Regions from separate parts of the Homo sapiens genome. Here all the other regions are linked to region 3. Evidence: promoter capture Hi-C in human tissues and cell types (Jung and others, 2019). All regions are on one chromosome and are shown on one strand. Each heading gives the region's core, a stretch centred on a gene start or on the middle of the fragment in contact. The rest is flanking DNA. Distances are from core to core; before and after follow the strand shown.

Region 1 (5,068 bases), core at 2,002-4,501, 740 kb after region 3:
AAGCAGGTCTCAGCTCCCTCCCACACCAGTACCTCCACCCCGAACCACAGTCCTCTACTCTCTGCTGTCATATAGAAGTGCTCAAGGATTATATGTAAATGTCCTATTACATTTCATGTGTGGGTTTCAGCCTGTTACTCCCTGTCAGAGGCTCTTCTGAAGGCTGAGTTTGTCACACACAGATCCCCCTCCTAGCTTAGTGTCAGCCTTGATCTCACAGACAGGCTGGTGATGACTGGCACCAGGCTGAGGCCATCTGCAATGCGTCCCCAGTGGCCTTTTTTTGAATCTGACACTGATGTTCTCATGAGGTGGACTGGGCTCCAGGCAGGGAAGATGCCCCATCTTCACCTGTGGCTACAGGAGCTGGGGGGTCCACAAACACTGAAGACATGTCATTTTTCCTATTCATTTCAACCTTCCCTCAGCAAATCTTCCTGCAGGTGCTGCCTGTGAAGTGATGGCAGCATCATGAGTTGAGAAACCGAGGAGGTTTGGGGTGTGGGTAAGAAAAAAGCCTGGAGAACTGTGAACTGGATCATCAGATCTGAGTCAATTGTAGGATGAGCTGGAGAGCTGACCTTGTGCCAGGAAAAAAGGAATCTGCATGAATAGGATCTGTTGAAGGTCTACTGTGTGTCAAGCACTGTGTGACATTCTCTATCTAACTAGATAAGTATTCCTTATCTTAACAACTAGATAAGTATTCCGTATCTTAACCCTAGTTTAGGAAAGTACTACTACTTTACCTATGAGGAACCTAAGACTCACAGAGACTAGATGATTGCTAGTGACTAAGCTGAGATTCAAACCCAGGCCTTCCTGACTCTAGAGCTTGTGCCTGTCATACAGATTTGTTTGTTTTAGGGACGAGGTCTCACTCCATTGCCCAGGCTGGGTGCAGTGGTGAGATCATAGCTCACTGCAGCCTTGACGTCCTGGGCTCAAGCAATCCTCCCGCCTCGGCCTTCCCAAGTTGCTGGGACTATATATAGGTCTGCATCACGACACACAGCTAATTATTTGTATTTTTTTTGTAGAGACAGGGTTTCACCATGTTGCCAAGGCTGGTCTTGAACTCCTGAGCTCAAACGACATGCTGCCTCAGCCTCCCAAAGTGCTAGGATTATAGGCGTGAGCCACTAGGCCTGGCAGTTTGTAGAGGCAGGATCTTGCTATGTTGCCCAGGCTGGTCTTGAACTCCTGGCTTCAAACAATCCTCCGGCCTCAAACACCCAAAGTGCTGGGATTACAGGCATGAGCACCCCCCTGGCCTCATAATGCTGATTTTTTGCAGAGGTAGGGTGTCTCCCAAACATTCCCAGAGAACAAGCAGAGAAAGCCCTGAGAGGTCCTTTAGCAAGAAAACCCTAGGGACAGACTGACCTACTAGCTTCTTCCAAAGGGATGAAAGAGTAGAAGAAAGAAGAACACCAGCCTACTTAGTGAGCACCCACTGCACGTCCAGCCCTGGGCCCTTGGGCGCTATCCCAAGCAGCCAGGGCACCTTGGTGAAGGAGCTTCATGGCCACGCTGTCCAGTTCTTGCTCTGACACATTCCTGAGCTGCATCAGGGAGAGGAGGCTCAGCAGCAATGGTAGGTTCCCCGAGGCTGTGAAGAACAAGGAGGACTGGGCAAGAAGCCTGATGCTCAGATCACCTGAAGGTCAGACACCCTGCCCTGCTTCAATGGCCCTTAATAACAGGTTCAAAGTTTTTTGTTTCCTAAGGGGTGAGGTGTTTTGTTGGGATTTACTCCTATTTCTTTCTTCATTTAGAACAGGCGTAACTGATATACTAAGTGCCAGACATAGGTTGGTACCAGGAATTCATTATTTCATTTAATCCCACTAAACAAAATGTGAAGCATGGATTGTTATTCCTATTTTGCACTTACAAAATTGAGGCTCAGAGAGGCTGAGTGACTTCTCCAAGGTCCCACAGCCAGAAAGTGGCAGGATGCTGTGGTCTGAATGTTTGTGTTCCTCCAAAATTCATGTTGAAATCTTAACCCCCAATGTAATAGTATTAGGAAGTGAGGCCTTTGGTAGATGACTGAATCATGAGGGTAGAATCTTCATGAATGGGATGAGTGGCCTTTTGAAAGAAACTGCGAGGAGCTCCCTCCCTCACCCCTTCTGTCATGTGAGGACACAGTAAGAAGACAAGTCATCATGCTGGCACATGCCTATAACCCCAGCTACTCAGGAGTCTGAGGTTGGGGGATTGCTTGAGCCTAGGAGGTCAAGGCTGTGGGGGGCAGGGGAGAAGGAGGAGGAAGAAAGGAGGAGAAGGAAGAAAGGAGGAGAAGGAAGGAAGGAGGAGGAGGGAGGGGAGAAGGAGGGGAAAGAGGAGGAAAAGAGGAAGAAGAACAAGAGGAGAAGAAGAAAAGAAGAAGAAGAAAGAAGAAGATGAAGGAGAAAGAAGGATGGATGGAAGGAAGGAACGAAGGAAGGAAGGAAGGAAGCAGGGAAGGAATGAAGGAAGGAAGGAGGGAAGGAAGGAAAGAAGACAGCCATTTATGAACCAGGAAGTAGGCCTTCACCAGACACTGAATCTTTCAGTACCTTGATTTTGGATTTCCCAGCCCCCAAAACTGGGAGAAATAAATTCCTGTTGTTTATAAGTCACCCAGTCTATGGCCCAAATAGACCCAAATCTGAATCCAATGCCCATGGCCTTCCCACTATGTTTCCACTACATCTTAAGGTTCTTAACCAGTATTATCAGCTAAACATGGCTTGTCCTTCCCTGAAAAGAAATAACTCATCTCCTCTTGACACCTTTAAATCTACTTCCAAACCCTCAGTCCTCTGTCAGGTAGCCACAGATTGCCTTTCGCTTTGCTTAGAAATATAATTTTAGGCCGAGTGTGGTAGCTCACACCTGTAATCCAAGCACTTTGGGAGGCTGAGGCGGGCGGATCACTTGAGGTCAGGAGTTCGAGACCAGCCTGGCCAATATAGTGAAACCCACCTCTAATAAAAATACAAAAAATTAGCCAGGTGCAGTGGCGCATGCCTGTAATTCCAGCTACTATGGAGGCTGAGGCAGAAGAATCACTTGAACCCAGGACGTGAAGGTTGCAGTGAGCCGAGATCACGCCACTGCACACCAGCCTGAACGACAGAGTGAGACCCTCTCTCAAAAAAAAAAAAAAATTATTTTTAAAATTCAGCTTCTCTAAAAATAGAAAAAAACTAAGCTGGGCGCAGTGGCTCACCCCTGTAATCCAACCACTTTGGGAGGCTGAGGTGGGCGGATCACTTGAGCTCAGGGGTTTGAGACCACCCTGGGCAACATGGTGAAACCCCGTCTCTCCTGAAAATACAAAAAAATTAGCTGGGTGTCGTGGCACACACCTGTAAGTCCCAGCTACTTGGGAGGCTGAGGCACAAGAATTGCTTGAACCTGGAAAGTAGAGGTTGCAGTGAGCAGAGATCTTGCCACTGCACTCCAGCGTGGGTGACAGAGTGAGACTGTCTCAAAAATAAAATAATAATAAAATAAATACATAAAATATAAAATAAATAAATACAATAAAATAAACCAATCCAAATTTTCAGTGTCTCCATACTGTACCAAACATCAAGCTTCCTTGACTCCAGTGAGTACCATTCCAGATTTGGAAACTAATCCCCCGGATCTCACTAGGAGCTTCCAACACATCACAGATCCACCTCCCTCCCCAGCCCCTGCGGACTGCTGCTGCCTCCATCCTCCTCCAGATTTCTCACTTTCTTCTTCCCACAGGGGGCTGCCATGCTTGTGACAAACAACACTGAGCACATGCTGCACAGGGTGGGGATATGCATGCACACATCAAACACATCCACTCATGTTAAACACACACACAGCAAACCAAGCATGTTGTACGCCCACTCTGCAGTGAGAGAAAGGAGGTGAAGTTTAGCTTGATGCCACAATGGCCTGGCTTTCTTTTTCAGATAAAACCCTGATTCTCTCTCCTGGAGCAGACCTAACAAGGGTAGAGATGCCCATTCTCGACTGGCTTTCAGGTCAAAGTGTGCCCACAGCACCTGCAGACTGACCTCCTGATGGGGATGCCCCATGCTCCACTAGCAGACGCTGCAGGATCAGCAGGAAGTGGCCTCGGATAAGACCGCCCACTTGGATATCCTCATTCCTCCTCAGGAAGGTCCTCAGGCTAATCAGTACCTTGTGAGCTGTGTCCACTGGGCTGGAATAGATGAGGTCCTGAGCAGGAGAGAAGAAAGCCAGAGATCAGAGGGTACTGCAGTTGGGGAAAAGTGACAATGAGGAATAGAGGGGCAGGAAAAGGGCCCATAATTATGATGTCACAAAAACTGGGTAATCTGTCACTTACTCAGCACCTATTATGTACCAAAGGCTCTTCTAGGTGCACTGACGCCTCAAAACCATCCCTTAGAATAGGTCCATCCTAGGCCGTGCATGGTGGCTCACGCATGTAATCCCAGCACTTTGGGAGGCCAAGGCGGGTGGATCACGAGGTCAGGAGATTGAGACCATCCTGGCTAACACGGTGAAACCCCGTCTTTACTAAAAATACAAAAAAATTAGCTGGGCGTGGTGGCAAGTGCCTGTAGTCCCAGCTACTCCGGAGGCTGAGACAGGAGGATGGCATGAACCCGGGAGGCGGGGCTTGCAGTGAGCCGAGATCGCACTACTGCACTCTAGACTGGGTGACAGAGCAAAACTCTGTCTCAAAAAAAAAAAAAAAAAGAATAGGTCCATCCTATTAAATCCATCCTAAACAGGAGAAAACAGGCTCAGAGAGATTACATGACTTGCTAAAGGTCATATAAGCCAGTGGCACAGACAGAATTTGAATGCAAGTCTCCTAACTCCAAGCCCAAAGCTCTATTTTCCAGGATGCCTCCCTCCTGCAAATGGTAGGATTAGGGTCAAGAGGTTGTTTTCAAGACAGGGAACCTGAGTGTGCCTTAAAGAAGAGAAGAAGGAAAGAGAAATGATGTCACTGGGCAGGCAGAGGATAAATTAGGACAGATTCAGTGCACAGAAAGGCAAGTGAGGACCAGGTCAGGCCCGTTCTCTACCAAGGCAT
Region 2 (4,393 bases), core at 1,271-3,770, 520 kb after region 3:
TCACTGCCGTTGCTGGGTTGACTTCCTATTCATTTAACACCATTTGCTGCTACATGATGATGCAGTCAGGATGCAAAGGAACTGACATCATGTACACAGGCACATTTGACTGCTGGAGGAAGATTACTCATGATGAAGGAAGCAAAGCTGTTTTCAAGGGTGCATGGTCCAGTGTTCTCAGAGGCATGGGTGGTGCTTTTGTGCTTGTCTTGTATGATGAAACCAAGAAGTACATGTAAGTTATTTCCTAAGATTTTTCCCCCTTTGAACAGGCATGTTGTATTATATGACATATCTTGAGCATTCTTTTTTTTTGAGACGGAGTCTCCCTCTATTGCCCAGGGTGGAGTGCAGTGGCACAATCTCGGCTCACTGCAACCTCCACCTTTTGGTGGAGCAATTCTCCTGCCTCAACCTTTTGGTTCACCTTTTGGGTGATTCACCTTTTGGGTTCAAGCAATTCTCCTGCCTCAACCTCCTGAGTAGCTGGGACTACAGACATCCGCCACCACTCCCGGCTGTTTTTTTTTTTTTTGTATTTTTAGTAGAGATGGGGTTTCAACATATTGGCCAGGCTGCTCCTGAACTCCCGATCTTGTGATCCACCCACCTGGGCCTCCCAAAGTGCTGGGATTACAGGCGTGGGCCACCGCGCCCGGCTATCTTGAGCATTCTTGACAGACTCCTCGCTGTCAATTTATCAGTGGCAACTATTCACTGGTTGGAAATGGGAAGCAATAATAGTCATCTGACCAGTTTTCTCTTAAAGCCATTTCTATGATGATGATGATGATGGGACTCAATTATGTTTTTTATTTCAGTCACTCCTAATAAATAACAAATTTGGAGAAATAAAAATATCTTAAGAAAAGAAAAAAGAAAAGAAAAGAAAGGCTTCACACCATGGAATGACAAGTGCTCAAATGGCTCTCAGTAAGTGCTCACGGGGACACCACTGTCAGAGTGGTGAGCAATCATCTACCACAAAATGGAACAAAGCAGCAGAGGTACGTAGGAAGCAGGTGAGAACATACAACCTCTAAGGCCCATATAAATCTGTCAAGAAAACTTTCTGGAGGAAGGAAAGATAGAAGAAAGACCTGGATATCAGCATTTGGTAACGTCTACTTCGATCTTCCTGACAACTACATTCAAACTGACCTGAGTGTGCTGGCCCCAAGCACATCATCCAGCTTGAGTTTCAATGCTGGTTGGGAGAAAAGGAAATTGAGGGCAAGTCAGAGCCCAGAAAGGAGCGCAATTTAGAACTGCACAGCGGGGGAGACTGAGTTTGAGTGTAGGAAACGGGAAAGGGGGCGTGTGGGGTAAAGAGGTGAGCGCAGTGGAGTCAGGCCTTAGTGAACAAGTGTGCTTGAAGGTGGAGATGGGCACCCCTCTGGCTGAGTCTGCTCCAGTAGAGAGCTCAGGGGCCAGCAGCAGGCACCGCAAGGAGCAAAGCAACTGGTGTAAGCCCCACAGCTTCCTGCGACCAACAGTGCTTTGTTGTGCCCAGGCATCTGTTCAGTCCCATCTTTTATTTTAAGACAGGATCTGGCTCTGTTACCCAGGCTGGAGTGCAGTGGTACAATCTGAGCTCACTGCAGCCCAAACTCCTGGGTTCAAGCAATCCTCTTACCATCGCCTCCCAAGCAGCTGGGATTATGGGTGCACACCACCATGGCCCACTAATTTTCTACTTTTTGTAGAGATGGGGTCTCACTATGTTGCCCAGTCTTGTCTCAAACTCCTGGGCCACCTCAGCTTCCCAAACTGTTGGGATAAGAGGCATGAGCCACTGCACCTGGCCTCAATTTTTTCAATTTTGTTTTTAAAAGCAGACATCTCCCTGGTTGGAGCAAGGAGGAAACATGGCTTTAGAAAGTTTCCAGGTCCAAGGAGAAGCCCCACAACAGTTTGAGATCTTTCCAGAATGATCCACACTCGACCTCCTCATCCCTCTTACCAAAGAGCGACACCTTGTTCGTGGAAGTAGGAGGAGATACACACCCAGTACCTGTCCTCATCCAACAAAGTCGCAGGCACCCAAGGGCAGCCACGCTGCCACCGAAGGCCCCCGGCTGCTCACAACCGCCGGTCAGCTCCGGCCTCTCTTCGAAGGACACACGCGTCTCGCACCCCCTCCCCGCCCCGCCCTGAGGAGACATGCGTCTGGGCCCCGCGCCTTGAAAAGGCGCATTCCCACCCCCACCCCTCAAACGCGCGAGGCCACGCGTTCCGGCCTCCGCCACCTCCACATGCCGGAACACCAGTGAGGGGCGCGCGCTCCCAAAGGTCGGGGGCGGAGCTAAGAGCGCCGCGCCCAAAAAAGGCGGCAAAGTCCCTGACTCGCTGAGAGTTTGCGAGCCGCCATGTCTATCTCATTCGTCTCCTCTCCTCCGACAGCACGCCGTGCTTCCCCTCAGGCACCTTTCACCGTTAGGGATGAGGGCTCCGCGGCGGTTCTCGGTGTGGCTCTGATTCACCGCCATCTTGCTTCGGGCCTCCTGCCGCCCCGTAGATGGAAAGGGGCGGGACCTGCGCCGAGCTGTGGGGCGCGGTTCTGAAGGGGAGGGCGGAGATTATGACGTAAGGAGGAGGAGGAGGAGGAGCGAGACCGGGTCACGTGGTGGGGCAGTGCCCGGGGAGCGGGGCGGAGTCAGGGTAGAGGCCCCCGCCGAGAAAGGGGAGAAAGAGGCGGGCCCTGAGAATTGGCTCGAGCGCGAAGGGGTGAGTGATAGGTGAGTGGCCTCCCGACCTCACCTGCCCCCTTAGCCCCCTGCCTTTAGGTATGGACTTGGGTTGGTCCTGTCAGGAATGATCTCAGCTCACTGCACCTCCAACCTCCCATGCTCAAGCCATCTTCCCACCTCAACCTCCCATCCATTACTCACTTTGGTTATGAAACACTAGAAAATAATGACTGAGGCCCGACCTGACGCCAACTGAAGATGAACTGACCTCACAAAGTGTTTTCATCTCTAATATCTGTGGCTATTTCTTACCAAGAGAGTCTCACCCTCCACACATGGGTGAGATGACATAATGGCTGATTTGGTCAAGGAGCACAAATAAGACAGGCCAGGCAGTTACTGTTCAAACAGCAATGTTTAGTTGTACAACACATAAAGTCTAGCAACAATTACAGGACCAGTTTGAGTGTCTGTTTGCTTGTTTTCAATTGGGAAATTTAACTGTAATGTCACCGTAAGATTGGCTGGGACTGGTAACATTTAAGAAACGGGTTGTTCTTGCATCCCCTAGGCGTGGGCCTCTTGCTCCATCAGGACTTGGTTGTAGATGAATGGCCCACAAGTCACCAGCCTTTGAGCAAGTTGTGTCCAGGTGGAGACAGGAAGAGGGTGGGCAAAGGGGAATTCTATAAAGACACAGTGTGTGGGGCAGTGGCAGTCAACATTCGCAAACATTCATGCATCTGATGGGGGGCTTTGCCCTCCCTTGGGTATTTTCCATTAGCCTACAGTGACCACCTGTGGTCAGGCTAATTCATTACTCACATTAATGGGGAAGGGGGTTGGGGGTAGGAGTAGGTAGGGTAGGTGGGAAGAGATCCCTCTTATTGCTGAGTGGACAGAAGGGTGCTAGTTTTTCCTTAGCGTGTACATATTGTGGGTTTCTGGGGGTTTGTGTGTGTGTTTAGTTTTTGTTTGTTTGTTTGGACAGAAGAAAGTCAACTCCAGCAATGTCTTCTTAGGAAAACCACTCTTCCTCAGTGGCTGCGTTATGAGGTGGGGAGGATGTACAACCGCACTCTGGGACAGCCACAAGTGGTGATTTTTTAAAAAGTGATCCTAGCCCTTGCTCCCCAACATCTGTAGTGACCCACCCTCATGAATATCTTTAAGTAATGAAGGAGACACCCTTGTCCCACTTTGGGGCTCACACAGCTGATCTCAATGAATCTAGTAAGCAGAAAAATTGCTTTCTTGACCCTTTAAGGAAGCCAAGAGTAGCTCATGCAGATGAATGGGTAGGGAGCAATGCCATTGCCCTTAGAGATGGTTACAAGTAGCTGGGATGGGCTTACAAGGGCAGAAGGAGCTCTTGATGAGTTCTTTCACCCTGCAGATGGGCTAGGACCGGCTGACGCAGATGATGCAGTAGGGCTGTACTGGCAGAACCCCACTCCACTGGGAGGAGAGGAGTGGTTTGGATAAATGGAGGATGCAACTGGCCTAAAGAGGCAGCTGGCCCCTCCCACCTACTGAGGGCTGAGAGGGGCTGTGGTGGTGAGCTGGACGAGCACAGCACTAAAAAGGGCTTGGCCCTGCAGCAATAACAGCTGAGAGGAATGGAGTGAGAAGCAGCGCTTGAAATGGCCTTCATTCAGCAGTGGGGCAGGGGGTGGCTGGCACAGGTGGAAGGACAGTGCCCA
Region 3 (4,363 bases), core at 1,864-4,363:
TACGGGAAGCATGGCTGCATCTGCTTCTGGGGAGGCCTCAGGGAGCTTTGACTCATGGTGGAAGGCGAAGTGTGAGGGGTCACTTCACATGGTGAAAGCCTGACCAACAAAGTGGGGGGTGAAGCAGCCACCCATTTTTAAACAAACAGATCTCGCGAGAACTCGCGATCGCAAAGACGCAAAGACGGCGCCAAGCCATGAGGCCCCCATGATCCAAACACTTCCCACCAGGCCCCACCTCTAGCACTGGGGATTACAATTTAACATGCGATTTGGGCGGAGACAAATACTCAAACTCTATCACCAGCCATCCCTGCTGAGATGCCGGACTCATCTGCTGAGATGCTGCGATGTGAGTGAAGTGACTTGGAACCTTTAGTGCAGCCCATATGCCAGCTGAATACCATCAAATGCCCTCAGTCAGTGCCACAGGGAGAAACAAAATCTCCTAGCAGAGCATTGCCCAAATTCCTGACCCATGAAATACATGGGCAGTGGTAATTATAAAGAAAGTGGAGTTAATTGATCGAGTGGCATCAGTGGGCTGAAGGAAGAAAACAACAGGCCTCAGGACAGCCATTTATCAACTTATAGCCCAAGGTGAAAATCAGGAGGGGCTTCCAGAGACGTGTTTAAAGACAGGTCACATTGTGCTGATAAAGGCCTAGAACCTGATGAGAACTGTGGAGTTTGAATCAGGGCAGATGAACGGCTGTGCTAAGTGCTGTGCTCCAGTCAAGGAGCACAGAAGTGAAGGAGCGGACACTGTCACCTAGGGCAGGGAACGTCTGGATAGATGGGCTCAAGAGTCTTGAATTCTAGGCTGGGTGCAGTGGCTCACACCTGTAATCTCAGCACTTTGGGAGGCCGAGGTGGGCAGATCATCTGAGGTCAGGAGATCAAGACCAGCCTGGCCAACATGGTAAACCCTGTCTCTACTAAAAATACAAAAAAGTAGCTGGGTGTGGTGGCACATGCCTGTAATCCCAGCTACTTGGGAGGCTGAGGCAGGAGAATTGCTTGAACCCGGGAGGTGGAGGTTGCAGTAAGCTGAGATGGCAGCACTGCACTCCAGCCTGGGTGTCAGCAGAGTGAGACTCCGTCTCAAAAAAAAAAAAAAAAAAAAAAAAAAAAGGCTTATGCCTGTAATCCCAGCACTTTGGGAAGCCGAGGTGGGCGGATCACAAGGCCAAGAGATCGAGACTATCCTGGCCAATATGGCGAAGCTCTGTGTCTATCAAAAATAAGAAATTTAGCTGGTCATGGTGGTGCACACCTGTAATCCCAGCTACTCAGGAGGCTGATGCAGGAGAATTGCTTGAACCCAGGAGGCGGAGGTTGCAGTGAGCGGAGATCGCGCCACTGCACTCCAGCCTGGCGACACAGCGAGACTCCATCTCAAAAAAAAAAAAAAAAAAGTGATGTTGTGTGGCCAGTCCTGATATCCATCGAGATGGCTCCTTGAAGCGTGGAAGCAATACATGAGAGGGAGATAACAGAACGATGGTGGCAGGGCACTGAGAAGGAGCCAAAGGCCTCGGGGAGGGGGATGTGCAGGCACAGATTTATTATGCAACATCTGAGAAGCCAGATGACCGTATTTCTGGAGGGTTCACCAGAGACTGCTTTGACTAGTGGGGGGTCTAGGCATCAATGGGCAATCGGCATGGCCGTCCTCTGAGGCCAGGGTAGAAGAGGGCAAATAGGACTGGAGCCGGGCTCGGAAAGGTCAGCAGGAGATAGGATTCCAGAGAGCAGAGGTTCGGTTGATGTGACTGTCAGAACAGGAGCAAGGCCAGAGTGGCTGCCAGGGATCCTGGGCGCACAGGAGTCTCTGGTGAATGCTAGTAGACCACGGTATTCCCAGGGGCCACGGAAGCCCCAACACTGCTTGACTGCGCTAAGCAAAGAAAGATCAAAAACAAAAAACGAGCGAACAGGACAGTAATGGCAGCTGCTGATGGAAAATCCCAACCCCTCATCCAGTTTCCAGGCCTAAGCTAGGCCTCAGAACCAGAGGTCACTGACTGAAAGGGAGGCTGGGTCCCCTCCAGACCACAAATATTTGCAGTAGTAGGCTCCTAATCTTTCCCCAAAGGGGCCGACAGCATTTCCAAGAAGCAACTGTACACTGGGAAAAGAGAAATAGTAGATACATCAAGGGCTGGCGGGTACACAGTCTGAGAGGCCCTTTGGAGTCCAGAAAAGTGGAGTCCTTGGACTTCATTTCTCCCCTATCTACACTTGCTCCCTTGGCGATCACACCCTCTCATAACTTTCTTTTTTTTTCTCTTTCTTTTTTTTTTGAGACAGAGTCTCGCTCTGTTGCCCAGGCTGGATTGCAGTGGGGCGATCTTGGCTAACTGCAATCTCCGCCTCCTGGGTTCAAGCGATTCTCCTGCCTCAGCCTCCCGAGTAGCTGGAATTACAGGCATGCACTACCACGCCCGGCTACTTTTTGTACCTAGTAGACACGGGGTTTCACCATGTTGGCCAGGCTGGTCTGGAACTCCTGACCTCAAGTGATCCGCCCCCCTCGGCCTCCCAAATTGCTGGGATTACAGGCATGAATCACCGCACCCGGCTCCTCTCGTAACTGTCAATAACCTATCCATGGCCAGTCCCGTGTGTATTGCTCCAGGCCTGACATCTCTGATGTTCAGTCTGTTCAGTCTCATATCTAAGTGCCCACCTGACATGTCCCCTGAGTGGCCTAATGGGCATCTCACCACGGCTCACAGAGAACTGATCTACTCCATTTTCACCCCCAAGCAGGCCCCTCTCCTGCAGTCTTCCCATCTCAGTCAATGGCAACACCATCCTCTTAGTTGCTCAGACTGAAAACCTAGCAGCCATCCTGGATTTCTCTCACACTGCCTATTCAACGTGTGAATGCATGAGTGGAAAGCTGAGTTCGCACTCGTGACTGGCCGGGGTCAACTCTGACATTCGCTCCCACTTTCGCGCGCTGATTTATCTCTGAGCGGATGAAGGTTGGGCCATGGCGGGCGGGGCCGGGGAGGCGGGCTTGGAGTGAGGGGGCGGGGCAGGCGCCACGAAAACGCGCTCGCGCCGGCGCCGAACCGCAACTCCCGGCGGCCCCCGCGCTCCCGGGTGGCAAGATGGTGGCGCGCAGGAGGAAGTGCGCCGCGCGGGACCCGGAGGACCGTATCCCCAGCCCACTGGGCTACGCAGGTGAGGGGCTCCGGGACGCGAGACCGGGGGCGGTCAGGCATCGCCGGGAGGTGTTTGGGGGTTGGCGACGGCCGGGGGTCCCCAGGAGCGGCCGCACGGTTGGGTGTGAGCCCCGGTGGCCCGTGGCCCCAGGCTCCGCAGGTCTTGAGGCTCCGGGGTCCCGAGGACCCAGGCGGCGCCCTTCTGCCTGCTCACTCTCCCGGGGCGAGCCCAACTTGGTCCACGCTTCCCTTGGGTGAGCCCGCCTCTGTCCACACTCTCACCCAGGACAAACCCATTTCCGTCCACACCCGCTCGTCCAGGTGAGCCCATCCCCTTCTCATCGCCTCTGCTCCTAGTCCATCCCCCATCAGCTCTTACCTGGGCTGTTATAGGCCCTCCTACTCGGTTGCCCTCCTTCTCCTCTTGCCCCTGCTTCTGTTCTCCACCCACGTGCCAGAATGTTCTTTTAAGGACATTTAGATTCGATCATGTCTGCCGCGCCCACGATAGGCGCCACACCTACTGCATTCCCTCCAGTGGCTTTATCAGGTAGCTTCTAAAACAAAAACCAGACTTCTTAACCTGTGTGGGCCACGTGGTCTGGCTGGTGCCGACCTAAAGCTCTTTCTGTTCCTCTGAGGGAACATGCTTTTTCCCCCCTCTGGGTTTTTGCACGTGCTGTGCCGGTTTGTTGCACAGTGGCGTTCTGGCCTGAGCTTTAATGTTGCTTCCTCAAAGAGGCCATCCGTGATGGCCTATGGAAAGAAGACCTCTGCCACCCCATCACCCTGTAATGTTTCTTTCACAATTGATACAAGTTTGCTGTATGCTTGTTAATTGTCTTCTCCGTTATTGCAACTGAGCTTCCTGAGTTCAGGGACCGCAGCTCTACGCCAACCGGTACTGTGACGGAGGTGTGAGAAAAATAGAAGCAGTTCCTAGCTTTATGAGGATTACAGTCATGGGTGTGCCAGCGATTAACCAAAGAATCTCATCAATATAGCCTCCAGACTGTTAAGAGAAGCTGTGAAGGCACAGGCAGTGGGATCTGAGCTGGCAGGAGGGGCGGAGGTGATGCTAAGGCTCTCCTGAGGAAGCGAGGTTTGAGCTAAACCTGAGGTGAGCGGGAGGGAAGAGGGTGACACGCCAGGTAGAGAGGCCAGCATGTGTGAGGCCCTGGTGTACC

The links. Contacts are between HindIII fragments. The study calls those that stand out against the background at their distance.
Region 1: a contact is called between a fragment that was not itself captured here and the fragment with the promoter of RRP7A in region 3, in 1 of the 25 tissues and cell types used here (heart right ventricle).
Region 2: a contact is called between the fragment with the promoter of WBP2NL here and the fragment with the promoter of RRP7A in region 3, in 1 of the 25 tissues and cell types used here (spleen).

Annotation. Positions count from the first base shown.
Region 1 is chr22:41,775,252-41,780,319 of GRCh38, reverse strand. It overlaps MEI1 (meiotic double-stranded break formation protein 1), which reads right to left. Exons shown (of 31, transcript NM_152513.4): 21 at 4,053-4,218; 22 at 1,508-1,612. Among named protein-coding and RNA genes, the nearest start is that of CCDC134, 23 kb to the left of the region's middle. The HindIII fragment of the contact is 7,041 bases long and covers 1-5,068 here.
Region 2 is chr22:41,996,915-42,001,307 of GRCh38, reverse strand. It overlaps WBP2NL (WBP2 N-terminal like), which reads right to left and starts at 2,520. Exons shown (of 6, transcript NM_152613.3): 1 at 2,428-2,520. The coding sequence starts at 2,489. It overlaps SEPTIN3 (septin 3), which reads right to left. Exons shown (of 12, transcript NM_001363845.2): 12 at 3,087-4,393. The coding sequence ends at 4,341. It also overlaps the pseudogene SLC25A5P1. RefSeq lists enhancers at 1-604, 1,939-2,453, 2,454-2,970 and a silencer at 2,568-2,627. The HindIII fragment of the contact is 18,305 bases long and covers 1-4,393 here.
Region 3 is chr22:42,518,546-42,522,908 of GRCh38, reverse strand. RRP7A (ribosomal RNA processing 7 homolog A) reads left to right here and starts at 3,113. Exons shown (of 7, transcript NM_015703.5): 1 at 3,113-3,195. The coding sequence starts at 3,123. It overlaps LOC124900479 (a long non-coding RNA gene), which reads right to left. Exons shown (of 3, transcript XR_007068117.1): 1 at 3,556-4,363. RefSeq lists enhancers at 1,912-2,206, 2,732-2,791 and silencers at 2,972-3,031, 3,052-3,221, 3,232-3,361. The HindIII fragment of the contact is 27,172 bases long and covers 1-4,363 here.